5 separate regions of the Homo sapiens genome follow, and all the other regions are linked to region 1. The links are contacts of gene promoters, found by promoter capture Hi-C in blood cells and fetal thymus (Javierre and others, 2016). All regions are on one chromosome and are shown on one strand. The core of a region is centred on a gene start or on the middle of the fragment in contact, and the rest is flanking DNA. Distances in the headings are between cores, read along the strand shown.

Region 1 (2,700 bases), core at 26-2,525:
CTTGTAGGTAGAAAAGAGCAATGACTGTCCCAAGAGGTGTGTCTTCAGGGATTGAGCTACTTAAAGACGTCATAGTCACTTCTGGAGCATTATCATTTACATCTAAAACTGTGATCAGTACTTTTGCCTTTGTCAGACTACCAGGACCATCTTGAGCCTGAACCTCCATTTCATAGAAGGCAGTTTCTTCATAATCTAATCCTTCTAAAGTTGATATTTCTCCTGTAAGCGAGTTCAGATGAAACATCTTTGGAAGTTTAGGAGTTATTTTCCGAAAAGAATATGTCACTTCCCCATTGACTCCCTCGTCCAGGTCGATAGCATGTACCGTGAGCAGTCTTGTACCCACTGGCACATTCTCGGGGACAGTTACTTGGTACTGAGGCAGAGAGAAGACAGGCGTGTGGTCATTCACATCCACCACTGTCACCTGGATGTGGGCGGTGCTGGATCGGGGCGGGTCGCCGCCATCAGAGGCTGTGAGGACCAGGTGGTGAACCCGCTCTTCCTCCCGGTCCAGCACCCGCTCCAGCACCAGTTCCGGGTACTTAGTTTCATCGTCTCCACTTTGCACAGCCAGGGAGAAGTGGCGATTGGGGCTGAGCTGGTAACTCTGGAGGGAGTTCGTGCCCACATCTGGATCCCCAGCCTCGCTTAACGGAAACCGAACCCCAGGAGCTGTATTCTCCATTATTTTTACATTTATTTCTTCCGTCAAGAATCTTGGAACGTTGTCATTAATATCTATTATTTCCACGTCTATAGGGTAAAGATTCATTTTATCTTCCATCAGGATGTTAAAGTTTACCAGACACCGCGCACTCTGAGCGCAGATCTCTTCCCGGTCTATCCTGCCCGCAGTGACCAAGCTGCCGCTGCGCTGGTTCAGGGCGAAAAGCTGCGTCCTACCTCTGGAGATGATGCGGACTCCGCGCTCCGCCAGCTCCCGGGGCTCCAGCCCCAGGTCCTTGGCGATGTCTCCCACAAAGGACCCTTTGTCCGTCTCCTCCGACACGGAGTAGAGAATACGTCCTGCCCAGGCTTCCCAGGGGGTCCCCAGGAGGATGGAGAGCAGGAAGAATCCTCTGTAGTCCCCGCCCCTCGGCTGAGCCGCCATAGTCGTCCTGCTTCTCTTGCTTAGGCGCCGATCTCGGGAAGTGCTTCAGAATGCGGGTGTATCCGGGTGGACCCCTCTGTCTTAGGAAGGGGAGCTCAGAATCCAGCAGGATAGAGGCTTGAGTTTAGTGCAGCCTGGAAGAGGGCTTATCGCAATCTGTCGTTTCTCTGTGCTGTAAAACTCGGTGGTTTCTGTGGGATCTCTCGCACCATTTTTCCCTGGTTGGTGAACAGCGGCGCTGTGAGTCCTTACTAAGTTACTGCACCACATTGATGCACACAATACACTGATTTCATAGAAAATTGTTTCATCTTTCAAAATTTCCCTGTTAGATTTCTTTGCTCTAGATATCCCTGATAATTAAAAATCCATTTTAAGACACTGAATTAATGCAACAGTGTTCATGGACCGGTGTTTGATAATCTTAGATAATTTTTAAAAAACTGCTTTGCCTTGCAACTTTCAAGTGACTCTTTTGGGCACTGACTCACACGTTATTGCACATGGGAAAATCAGTTATTGAAGGCAAAAAGGTAAATTTTATTTAAATACATATGAAAGATTTTACTTAGAAAATATTTACATCAGTGTATATAAATTTTAATTAATTCAGTATTAATTGAACACATATGTTCTAGACACCATGATGCAAGATTCAGAAAGTCAAAATTGTTGTAAAATATATAGACCTATTTTAATAAATTTTTGATTGTATAGAACCTTAGAGACGGTCTAACACCTTCATTTTAACCGTTTAAAAAATGAGAGGGGGGGCCAGGTGCTGTTGCTCACGCCTGTAATCCCACACTTTGTGAGGCCGAGGCGGGCGGATCACCTGAGGTCGGGAGCTTGAGACCAGCCTGACCAACATGGAGAAACCCCGTCTCTACTAAAAATACAAAATTATCCGGGCGTGGTGGCGCGCGCCTGTAATCCCAGCTACTCAGGAGGCTGAGGCAGGAAAATCGCTTGAACCCGGGAGGTGGAGGTTGTGGTGAGCCGAGATCACACCATTGCACTCCAGCCTGGACAACAAGAGCAAAACTCTGCCAAAAAAAAAAAAAAAAAAAAAAGAAGAAGAAAGAAAGAAAGAAAGAAAGAGGGAATTGCCTTGCCTTGTTCCTGATTATTGATTATATAGTAGTAGAACAATGTCGGAATCCAAATATTCTCACTCCCAGTCTTGTGAGAAAAAAAGAAAGAAATCGTTGTTTGTCTTGGCTGCAGCAATCAGCTATAGAAGCAACCCATTTTCTACAGAAGGCAGAAATCTGCAGAGATCCTACTGGGCTGTGAATTCATAAGAAACTGGATAATGGATTGGCTGATTCTTTTCATTATGCAATTCAATTCAAGTCTTCATCCTAGTATGCAATTCAAATCTTCATCCTACTCTATTCTAGTGTAATTGAGAAAACAGGGATCTCTAGACAGCATTTGAGCAAAATGCAGGACTGTCCTGACAGGATCCTTAGAGGTACTCGTCTCTCCACTGATGTTGATAGAGTAAAACTAAATTATTGATGGATCCGAGGCTACCCTCTGCTAGCAGAAAGAAAAGAAAGCTCCTTTCACATAGTTGC
Region 2 (2,700 bases), core at 4-2,503, 190 kb before region 1:
TTAAATAAGCCACCTGTCAAACATAATTTCTGCATATTTGCTTTCCTTAGCCTATTTCCCTTTTCCACTGACTTTAATGAAGTCTTTCAGATTCTCTTAAACACAGTGAAGGATTCAAAGGCAGAGCCACACTTCCTTTCCATCCTGCAGCACTTACTCTTGGTCCGAAATGACTATGAGGCCAGGTAAGATGCTGTGCTTATGAGAAGTTTTGAATTTGAGCCTAAGTGGAGAGAGTGAATTCCTTAAATTCAAAGATTGTTCTGTAAAAGGAAAATGTAAAGACAAAGACCCAAGATTAGGGTTCATTAGTCACCGATATAAAGGAAGTTGTCTTATTTCTTTAATCCAACTCAAAGGCATCCCTATGGCAGAGGTCAGAGTGTATAAGGTGAAATGCCGTTCTGTTTTTGGAGGGGAGTAGGTAAATAGGATGAAGATGTTAGCAAACAGAAGTGGCAATTTAAAATTCTTTCTAGTTTCCTGGAAGTATAGATTTAGCAATAGCACTATCCATCACAGGAAGGATCAAACGCAAATTTTTAGATGGGAAAGTATTGGCACTAGGAGCGGATGGCAAGAAGTTTTGATTATTTGAAGTAGATAGGGTAGGGTAGCTGATGTGGAAAAAGGAGTTTTCTTAGCATGGCAGCAATACTTGTGTTAACTTTACAAAAGTTTTTCCAGGTCTCTCAGTTGTCAGAGCAATTACGTTTTCTTGGTCCTGAATACTTCTGAAAATTATATTTTGATTTTCCTTTGATGACCCTGTTTTTATTCTCTTGTAGACCTCAGTACTATAAGTTGATTGAAGAATGTATTTCCCAGATAGTTCTGCACAAGAACGGGGCTGATCCTGACTTCAAGTGCCGGCACCTCCAGATTGAGATTGAGGGATTAATTGGTAAGCATACTCTTCTATCTGGCTCCTCCAAGTATTGCTTCTTCCTTTCATTTTGCATCTTGTTTCAGTGAAAATGTCAGAGAAGATACCTTTCCAGTCCCCAGATAGTTCTATTTTTGTCCTTTCTTAGGTCATAACCAGCATCTTTGCTAGGAATCTATAGGTCTTTAGTTTATTTTTAGATAAAACACACACCAGCACCTTTTGCAGGAACTCCTGGTGGTCTCAGAGAGTCAAAAATATCACTCATAGGCATTCTTCTTGCCACCCAGCATGGTGGCCTTACCGCACACTCAGATTACATGTTGAACTTAACTGAAAGTTCCATTTCTTTGTCTAGTGCAGAACATTAAGAAAGATAATAAAAATGATCAAAAAGACTGTTCTTTGGAAGGGTGTAGTGTGAAAGAAATAGAACAAGAGAATTAGGAGCTTTACTTACTGACTCTTCTTCTTTTCAGATCAAATGATTGATAAGACAAAGGTGGAGAAATCTGAAGCCAAAGCTGCAGAGCTGGAAAAGAAGGTGCATATGAGAGACCAAAGACATGTGTTTGAGTATATCTTTCTTTGAGAATTATTATTTTCCTGATCTATGAGACAGTTTTCCTCTGTGGTATTTTGGAAGCGTTTAGCACCCAATAGTGTAGTTCCCAGGGGAAACCTTTCCAGTATAGGGTAGTCATTGGAGAAAGTGATATGGATGTCTTCATAGGGAGCTCTAGTGGTGGACTTTCAGTTCTTGGGCTACTGGGCAGGAAAAGAAAGACAGATGATACTCATGTAATAGTAATGGCACTCTCAGGTTTGCTTGGCATTTTAGGCCTCTTACCCCTAGAACAATAGGAACTGGGGTCCTTAGAGCAATAGAACTAGAGGATGTCTGAGTTCTCTTTTTCTCTTCAGTTTTTAAGAACGTTTATTGTGGTTAATAGGTTTTTGATCCTAGAGAATATTGGGATTGTACTACCATGGTCGTCCTCGTTAAATACCTTTAAAATCTTATTTTTTTTAACTATAAAAATAGGGAATCTGTGGAAATGAACTGATTCCCCTCTCCTTTAACCTTGTTTTATTTTCATTTTTATTTTTATTTGTTTTTTTTTTGAGACGGAGTCTCACTCTGTCATCCAGGCTGGAGTGCAGTGGCGCGATCTCGGCTCACTGCAACCTCTGTCTCCTGGGTTCAAGCAGTTCTCCTGCCTCAGCCTCCCAAGTAGCTGGGATTACAGGTGCCCACCACCATGCCCGGCTAATTTTTGTATTTTTGGTAGAGGCTAGGGTTCACCATGTTGGACAGGTTGGTCTCGAACTTCTGACCTCAGGTGATCCACCTGCCTCGGCCTCCCGAAGTGCTGGGATTACAGGTGTGAGCCACTCCGCCCAGCCAAACCTTGATTTTAAGGTCAGAATCATGGTGCTTTTTTCCCCCGAGCATGGCCTGGATTTATGAGCTCTGTAAATCAAGTACTGGCCCAGAACAGGAGGCAGTGGGGGGATTCCAGCACCCCCAGGCAAAAGAGGAGGTAGGGAGAATTATGGGTAATAATACTTGTGCTTCTTACTGAGATGGAGAGCTTGCTGGGAGCCTGATTCGTTTTTTCTCTAGTTGGACTCAGAGTTAACAGCCCGACATGAGCTACAGGTGGAAATGAAAAAGATGGAAAGTGACTTTGAGCAGAAGCTTCAAGATCTTCAGGGAGAAAAAGATGCACTGCATTCTGAAAAGCAGCAAATTGCCACAGAGAAACAGGACCTGGAAGCAGAGGTGTCCCAGCTCACAGGAGAGGTAATGC
Region 3 (2,700 bases), core at 14-2,513, 150 kb before region 1:
GCCAGCCTGGGCAATATGGTGAAACCTCATCTCCACAAAAAATAAAAAAATTAGCCGGGCGTGGTGGCCTGCACCTGTAGTCCCAGCTCCTTGGGACCCTGAAGTGGGAGAATTATCTGAGCCCAAGAGGTCAAGGCTGCAAGTGAGCCATGATTGCGCCACTGCAGTCCAACCTGGGTGACACAGTGAGATGCTGTCTCAAAAAACAAACAAAAAAGATGGAGCTTGAAAGATAAGTTGGATTTTTAAATAGGCACAAAAGGAAGGATAACATGGTGGAAGGGGACTGCTGAACTACTACTAACCAACTGTTCTTGTGAATCAAGTTTTAATGGAACACAACCATGCCCATTCATTTATGTATTGTCTGTGCCTGCTTTCATGCTACAGTGGCAGAGTTGAATAATTGAGACCATATGGCCTGCAAAGCCTAAAATAGTTACTATCTGGTCCTTTACAGGCAGCTTGCTGATCCCTGCAAGTAGATAGGATGTAGGTAGGAAAGCATTACTGATAAATATTGAAGAAATGAAAATGAGATATTTATTAGAGTTGGGGGAGGTTCAGTAATAAAAGGGTGGTTGGTTGAAGAGGAGGTTAGTTTTGAAGGAATACAATAGACCATTATAATAGAGAGGAAGTGAGGGGCCATTTCACGCTGGACAGTAGTTGCTTGGTAAAGCACAGAGGTGGCTTACTTTTAATCATGCTTTTCTAATCTTTTCCCTGCTAGCCAAGAAGGATCAAGAAGGTGGAGAAGAAAAGAAATCTGTGCAAAAGAAAAAAGTAAAAGAGTTAAAGGTGTTGGATTCAAAGACAGCCCAGAATCTCTGTGAGTATCTCTTGGTCCCAACTATTCAAAATGTGAAGGAATTCTTTTAAGAATTTTTAATTCTCTTGAATCTATGGTCCCTTGATATGGAACTTTAATTGTTCAATTCCTGCTATATACCAACCATTGCACAGTGAATTTTCAGTATCATGTTTAATTTCTTCAATAGCACTGCAAGATTTTTAAGTATCCAGTTTTATGTCAAGGAAACAAGCTAAGACTTTTAGGAATTTGCTTAGACATAAAGCTAGTAAGAAGGAGGTCTGGGATTTGAGCCTTTTTTTTTTTTTTTTTTTTTTTTGAGACACAGTCTCACCACTCTGTTGCCCATGCTGGGGTGTAATAATGCGATCACAGCTCACTGCCACCTCAGCTTCCTGGGCTCAGTTGATTCTTCCACCCCAGCCTCCCAAGTAGCTGAGACTACAGGTGTGCACCACCATGCTCAGCTAATTTTTTGTAGAGATGGGGTTTTGCCATGTTGCTCAGGCTGGTCTCAAACTCCTGGGCTCAGGTGATCTGCCCAGCTGTGTCTCTGACTTTCTTATTTAAAAGTTCTTACTATGTCCATTGCGTTCACAGAAAGTCTACCACAGATGGTCTAGCCACTGGACATTTCCTTGCTCCCACTTTTGCTTTTTTATTAAATAAATAGAGAAGGGGTCTCGCTATGTTGCCCAGGCTGGTCTTAAGCTCCTGGCCTCAAGTGATCTGCCCACCTCAGCCTCACAATATGTTGGGATTACAGATGTAAGCTACCATGCCCAGCTTTCACTTTCTGATAAGTAAAGGTACTAGCTTGGCTTCAATTAAATTTAAAATTACTTTGTGATTTAAAATAACTAAGGTAAATTTTGTACTTCTCAGAGTAGGATCAGTAACTCCAGAGAAGGGTTCTGTTCTGAAGTTTCCACGTATACTCGTAACTCTTTGGTAGCAAAATTTCAAATGAGAAATTCCTCTGCAAAGTTGATATAGGTAGTACTTATTTGATGATCAGGACAAATGTTAAATTTTTGTTCTTTTTAATTACTCATCTACCTACTTCATACCAAGAAATATAGACTTAAATATTTATTTGACAAATATTTCAGGGTCTGCTATGTTATAGGCTCTATTAGGCATGTGTTCCAGAGATGAAAGGGTATTTTCCGTAAAACCCACTCATAGTCTTGTGATGCAGTTATTGTCCCTGTTTATCCAAATGAGAAAACCAAAGTTTAAATGATGCGAAGTGCCCAGATCACACAGCCAATAAGTACACATACCCATAAGTAAAGTCAGTGATACAATGAGACCAGTAAACTGTCACATTATTCTTGATTATATAATCTTAAATTATTGTCAATAACTATTACTACATAGTGTCTGTGGTGAAGTCTTATGGAGATTAAAGTATTGTGAGTCAGTTCCTCTTCCCAAGAGTATCTCTAGGAACATAAGACATGAGTAATTGGTTTAAAAAATGATACAAGAAAGACAATGGTGTAGTACATTATGATTTCTAGTGTTATGATATTGATATGGAAAACAGAATTTAAGAAAAGAAAATTGAGAGTAGTATAGGATAGGATGGTCTGGAAGATGGAATTTAGTGATTAAATGTCTCTCATGTGCTAATGATACAAAGCTGAATAAGACAATAGTCCCTGTCTGCATGAGCCACGTATTTGGTAAAGACAGAAAGGCAGATGATAACAGTGCAGATTAATAAATGCTATGATGGAGGTATGCTAGAATGTTTATGAGAGTACTAGGAAGGGAGGGATCTAAATCAAGTGGGGGCAGTGTTGGAGGGGCAAATCCCAGAAGATATTCTAAAGGAGGTACTACTTAAACTGAGTTGAAAGACCAATTAAGGAATTAAG
Region 4 (2,700 bases), core at 20-2,519, 130 kb before region 1:
GCCCCAGTCTTGGTCTTTATTTAGGAGTGCTCGGCTCTTTCATCTGGTCCTGCTTCTAAAACATTCCGGTACTGCTTTCTCCACTCCAGCTTTCCCAGATCTCCAGGAAGTCTTTTTTTTTTTTTTTTTTTTCCAATTGAGCTATCATTTACATACCTAAAATTCACCTTTTAAAAATGTATAATTCAGGGGTTTTAGAATATCCACAAGATTGTATAACCATTACTATCTAATTCCAGGACGTTTCATCATCCCCAGAAGAAAAACTTCATAATCCCCATTAGCAGTCACTACTGATTCTCCCCTCCCCTTGCCTCTGGCAACCACCAGTCTATTTTCTATCTCTGGGTTTGCCTGTGCTGGACATTTCGCAGAAGCTGACCCATAACATATGGCCTTTCGTGTCAGGCTTCTTTCGTCCCAGACAGCTGTTTGTGTATACACAGTTGCTCTGTGCTGTTCTGGGGCATGGGAGGAGGAAACATCATGAGATGGGCATGGTCTCAAGGAGTGGCCTTCCTGCTGCAGATACTGGGGCCATAAGCCTAGATACCATAAATGAATATGAGAGTCTTGGGGATGAAACCCAGCAGTTAGAACAGAAACTCGTGGATTGATTTGGTTCTTCTTTTCTAATCTGGTATGACAGCCGGAACTTGACCATCTCTTAGCCACCTGGGCTGAGATTTCTTGGTAGGGGTCCTCTCCTGTCCATCTTTATCCCAGTTCTGCTTCCCTGGCATAGTTTTTATTACTACCTCCCCCCCGCCATGCCACCCCCACATACTCTACACACCTTGTAGGGCCCTTGGCATTTGTATTACGGCTGCTACCTTTGAAGGGGTGGGAAAGAGCTAAGGCATGTGGGCATCTGTTGTTGGAGGAACACGTGGGAGTGCGGTGTCAGTGCGTGGCTGCTGTTCCTCTTTGCGGGAGTCTCTCCAGCCACTTACGGAAGGTTGCCTTCTGCTAGGGACAACCCTCCCAGGGCTGACTGAGAAGTGTTTTGGCCTAGGAGTTTCCTGGGACCTGTCAAGAAAACAAAAATAATACTATGTACTAAACTTTAGTCTATTTAATTCCAACATCCCTATTACGAGAAAATAGACTTTGAATACTTCATCTCTCCTTAAGTCACATAGCTAACACTTCAGCCCAGTTCTGTCTGTCTGTGTTCAAACTTTTGTGCTGTTTTCACACAGGGAAGCAAGGGGGCAAGGCTTGCTTTCCTGTTGCACCACACTCTCTTACATTCTTTGCCACCCAACAATATATTCCACATGCTGGATCTCTGCCCCTTTCTTCAAAGTAAGGGCCTCTGTGAAGTGGCCAAGGTAGTCATGTCTGCATGGCTTACGCTGATTATCTGCTGTAGAGTTTGAAAGAAATTAGAAATGAGGCCTTCCATAGACAGAATCTCTCGTCTTCTCTTGCAGCCAACAGGAAGGCCGGGTGTGCAGTCACATCTCTGCTAGCTTCGGAGCTGACCAAGGATGATGCCATGGCTGCTGTTCCTGCCAAGGTGTCCAAGAACAGTGAGACATTCCCCACAATCCTTGAGGAAGCCAAGGAGTTGGTTGGCCGTGCAAGCTAATGTGGGTCCTGTGACCGCGGCAGCTCCTCAGCGGAGCCGCAGACTGTCCTGCCCTGCAGCATGTGCCTAAAGGCTCAAGGGGATATTCCTCTGGGGTGGCCACTCCCACCACCCTGACCCTGTCTTTCTCTCTGGCCTGCTGCTCTCTCAACATCACATACAGCTTCAGCTGCCTGGAGGCCAGAAGGAAAGGGCAGTGCAGGGGAGGCCTGAGCCCGACTTAGCCAGCCCTGGCTGTTGTATTACCAAAGCAGGGTCCATGTTTGCTGCCTTAACCCTGTCTCCTCTCTGTTACTCAGAGGGCCTCATCTCAGACAAGGCCCAGCCTGCTTTTTCTCAGCCCTGACTTTCTAATGGGCTTTCCCCCCTAGGTCAGTCTTGCTGGATTTGTGCTTTTCTTTTGTGGTTTCTCTGGCCCTGAGAATAGCATGGGGCTTGTAAACCTTTGGGCTAGATCCCTCCTTTCATTGCTGTTGTCTCTGCTCTTCCCTCTCCTGGCTGTGGTTATTTATTATTAGTGGTGTGGCACTGGGAGCTGCTCCTAAGGAAGCAGGGAGCAAATCCCACCTTTACCCCACCTTCCTGGGAAAGGCCTCCAAAGCAAAGGATCTGGACCAGTTTCCCTGCTGTGCTGTGGCCCAGGCCAGAGCCTGTGGGCAGGCAGGCAGGGCATAGCGACAGTGTGGGACCTGCCCCCAGCTTCTGCCACGCTTTATGCCCTTGCCTCTCTGGACGCTCTGCACCAACCCCAGGCTACTGAGCCACCTTCCCTCCTCATGCCTTCCCTGAGCTTTGGTGCATCTCATCTGGACTATGGGTTGTACTGTGACCATCCCAACACCTCACCCTCTGTCTACAAGGAAATGGGAGGTGGAGCCTCCTGGCTGAGAAATTGTTTTGCAAATGGATCTATTTTTGTATGAAAAAAAAAATTTTTTTAAAGAAAACTGTTCCTTCCCCCTTTCCCCTCCATAATGTAAGAAGCTTTGGTGGCAGGTTACAGAGTTCTGGGATTTCTTCTCACAGGCCCAATCCTGAATGTGCCCCTGGACCTTCTGGACCCTTGAGTCCAAGGCAGATCCTCTCTCCCAGGGAATCCGACACAG
Region 5 (2,881 bases), core at 246-2,745, 210 kb after region 1:
GCTCGGTTTTCAGCCTGGGTGTCCCCAAGTCGGTGACGGTGATGGTGATGTTGTACTCAGTGTTCCTCTCTCGATCCAAAGGTTTCTCTGTTACCAGAGTATAGAAGTTTTCGACAGATGGCTTCAGGATGAAGGGGACATCGTCCTGGATGGAGCACACTGTCTTTCCATTGTTCCCGGAATCTCTGTCTCTAATCCTAAAAACAGCCACGACTGTCTCGGGTGAGTTTTCTGCAATTGGGCTAGTAAGTGAAGACAGGAGCAGCTCGGGTCGATTATCGTTTATATCTGTTACATCAACCACTACAGTGCATTTTCCAGAAAGCCCGCCGCCGTCTTTGGCCTGAATAGTTAATGTGTAAGTTTGAATTGCCTCATAGTCCAATTGCGCTTTAAGATGAAGACTGCCAGATGTTGGATTGATTTGAAACGTTTTGAGAATTCTTTCAGTGGCGTAAGAAAATGCATAGGCTATTTCCCCATTACTTCCGGTATCTAAATCTCTGGCTGACACGGAGACAACCATGGAACCAACGGGGCTATTTTCGGGCACCTGCACCTTGTAGAGCGACCGCACAAAATCAGGGGCGTTGTCATTTACGTCTAGAACCAGAATGCGCACGAGGGCGGTCCCTGATCTTGGAGGAGAGCCGCCGTCTAAAGCGGTGAGGGTTAAACTGAACTCTGGTATCTCTTCCCGATCCAGCACTTGATTCAGCACCAATTCGGGATAGATATTCCCCTCCCCGCTATCATGGACATTAATATGGAAATAGGCATTGGGGCTGATGGTGTAGTTACTCAGGCTGTTGGTTCCAACATCTGAATCCTGTGCACTCTCTAGGAGAAATGCCGCCCCTGGAGTGGTACTTTCTAATATTTTCAAGGAAATCTCTCTGTCTAGAAATACTGGAGCGTGATCATTGATGTCTCTGACCCATAGTTCAGCACGGAAAATCTGAAAAGGTTTTTCCAATAACAACTGGAAAGGCAGCACACAGGGCTCTCTGGGGCCACACAGTTCCTCTCGGTCCAATTTCTCATTTAGAAGTAGATCACCAGTAAGCGAACTGAGCAGTAAAATTTGCATGTTCTGGTCTGAAACAATTCTAGTTCCCCGGGCTCTCAGTTCCCCTACCCCTAACCCTAGGTCTTTTGCCAAGTTGGTAAGAAAGGTGCCTCTCTCGGTTTCCTCCGCCACAAAATACCGAAGCGGTTCGGCGCCAGCCCAAGACATTCCCAGAAATACACAAAGAAATAAGACTTGCCTTTTCTGCACAGCACGCTCCACTCTGGCCTCCATTCTTCTTTGGATCAGTCTTTCAAAATGACTTTCACTCAGCCTCCAGCGGCTCTCACAAATGGCAGCAGCGGAATCCTTTGAAATGAGCTGAATAATAGCAATGTTTGTGGGGAAGGATCCTCATTTTACCCCAATTCCTATTACCACTGTTTCCTTTCCTATGCTTTTCTCTTCAGATTGCCTCTTTGCTCTGGAATCTGTAACATCCTTTCTTTGTGAAATTATTTTTCTCTCTCTCTTTTTAGCCAGCAGCGCCACCTTGCGTTTTGTGGATGTTATTCCCGTTATCAAGACTAGAACAAAAAGATGGCGGATTGAAGGAATTCTGCAACAAGAATGATTTGTCCCCGGTATCTTTGCTGTTTCATTCCATCTTTATCCTCAAATGGTCACAGTAATGCTAGTAAGTAATAGCTGATGTCGTTTTCCCCTGTGATAATCTGGATTCGTAGAAGAATTAATTTATAGTCTTCTTAAATCTAGGAGCATGAAACTAAACTCTGACTCCCCACCGAAATCCTAAGAAAATCTCCTATTTTAAAAATGGATAGTAAAAATATATATGAGAAAATGAAACCTCCTCCTTGAAGTCAACAAATATTGGTTGGGGACATTTTATTTATTTGTAAAGTATTTAACAATAATAATGTGAATATGGCAGAATAATTGACCCTTTTCCCAATTTCTTGTGAATTAAACAATTATTCCACTTTCCAGGTCTTAACTCTTTACCTGTGATATTTCTTGGAACACTTTATGCCTCCCCCAAACCCAACCTTCATCCTTCACCTGATTTAAGTATTACATAAGAAATTATTGTTCCTCTATAATTTCAGTGACTAGAATCTCCAATGTCCAATGAATACTCTTAAAATTAGTAGTAGCAAGTTGGTCAATCTTGCATTTGTGGAAGTGCTTCTAGCATTTCATCTTCAACTATGATGGTTGATCTCAATTTGGGGTAAATATTCCTTTTTTGAATCAATAAAGTTTTCTTTTTATTCTTTCATATTTTGAAGTGATTTTTGATAGCTGTTGAAATAATACATTTATTCTTTAGTTTCTAAATTACTGAGTTATTGATATAAATGACATTTAACCATAATGTATTATTGTTTTAGTGCACAGATAGATATGATGTGTCAACATGGTTTTAGGATTTTTCTAGTTAATGTTGTTTACCTAGTGCGTGTTTGCCTTTTATGGCCTTGGTATTAAACTATTATACTGGCATCATAGAATGTGTTAGGGAGCTTTTTATCTATTTTATACAATAGTTTTAATAATTATATTATTATATGTTTCTACATGCTTAATTCCAGCTTGTCTTTTAAACTGGTTGGGTTTGGTGACTTCACTTGCAGTAGATCAGTGACTACCATTTACATTTTACCTTTGGTTATTAATCTGTTCAGGTTTTGTATTTTTAAGTAACTTGCATTTTATTTTGAAAATCATTTTATCTAGTTTGCAAATTTCTTGGAATTGTTTTCATTGCGTTATTTACCTTTAATTGTATCCCTATTTTTATTAGTGATGTTTAGCATTTTAACTCCTTTTTATTCTTGGTGAGACTTG

Evidence for each region. The method cuts DNA at HindIII sites, captures the fragments that hold promoters and counts their contacts. A CHiCAGO score of 5 or more calls a contact.
Region 2: a fragment that was not itself captured here is called in contact with the fragment with the promoter of PCDHGA7 in region 1 in 1 of 17 cell types (endothelial precursors); the score reaches 6.1 in endothelial precursors.
Region 3: a contact is called between a fragment that was not itself captured here and the fragment with the promoter of PCDHGA7 in region 1, in 2 of 17 cell types (endothelial precursors and M2 macrophages). The highest score is 5.8, in endothelial precursors.
Region 4: a fragment that was not itself captured here is called in contact with the fragment with the promoter of PCDHGA7 in region 1 in 1 of 17 cell types (total CD8 T cells); the score reaches 6.4 in total CD8 T cells.
Region 5: the fragment with the promoter of PCDHB7 here is called in contact with the fragment with the promoter of PCDHGA7 in region 1 in 8 of 17 cell types (M1 macrophages, M0 macrophages, erythroblasts and 5 more); the score reaches 10.3 in M1 macrophages.

The regions. Positions count from the first base shown.
Region 1 is chr5:141,381,317-141,384,016 of GRCh38, reverse strand. PCDHGA7 (protocadherin gamma subfamily A, 7) reads right to left here and starts at 1,275. Exons shown (of 4, transcript NM_018920.4): 1 at 1-1,275. The coding sequence starts at 1,117. The region is part of intron 1 of PCDHGA1 (protocadherin gamma subfamily A, 1); the gene reads right to left. All of the region lies in intron 1 of PCDHGA2 (protocadherin gamma subfamily A, 2), which reads right to left. The region is part of intron 1 of PCDHGA3 (protocadherin gamma subfamily A, 3); the gene reads right to left. It also overlaps PCDHGB1, PCDHGA4, PCDHGB2, PCDHGA5, PCDHGB3 and PCDHGA6, and 1 more gene. The HindIII fragment of the contact is 6,225 bases long and covers 1-2,700 here.
Region 2 is chr5:141,574,960-141,577,659 of GRCh38, reverse strand. It overlaps DIAPH1 (diaphanous related formin 1), which reads left to right. Exons shown (of 28, transcript NM_005219.5): 12 at 69-185; 13 at 789-904; 14 at 1,366-1,430; 15 at 2,514-2,693. Among named protein-coding and RNA genes, the nearest start is that of DIAPH1-AS1, 18 kb to the right of the region's middle. The HindIII fragment of the contact is 2,674 bases long and covers 1-2,590 here.
Region 3 is chr5:141,532,467-141,535,166 of GRCh38, reverse strand. DIAPH1 (diaphanous related formin 1) reads left to right here. Exons shown (of 28, transcript NM_005219.5): 19 at 734-832. Among named protein-coding and RNA genes, the nearest start is that of DIAPH1-AS1, 24 kb to the left of the region's middle. The HindIII fragment of the contact is 6,140 bases long and covers 1-2,700 here.
Region 4 is chr5:141,515,745-141,518,444 of GRCh38, reverse strand. DIAPH1 (diaphanous related formin 1) reads left to right here. Exons shown (of 28, transcript NM_005219.5): 28 at 1,437-2,700. The coding sequence ends at 1,594. LOC124901091 (a long non-coding RNA gene) reads right to left here and starts at 1,437. Exons shown (of 2, transcript XR_007058971.1): 1 at 797-1,437. RefSeq lists enhancers at 1,156-1,781, 1,782-2,407. The HindIII fragment of the contact is 2,622 bases long and covers 1-2,580 here.
Region 5 is chr5:141,171,258-141,174,138 of GRCh38, reverse strand. PCDHB7 (protocadherin beta 7) reads right to left here and starts at 1,495. Exons shown (of 1, transcript NM_018940.4): 1 at 1-1,495. The coding sequence starts at 1,303. It also overlaps PCDHB@. The HindIII fragment of the contact is 10,030 bases long and covers 1-2,881 here.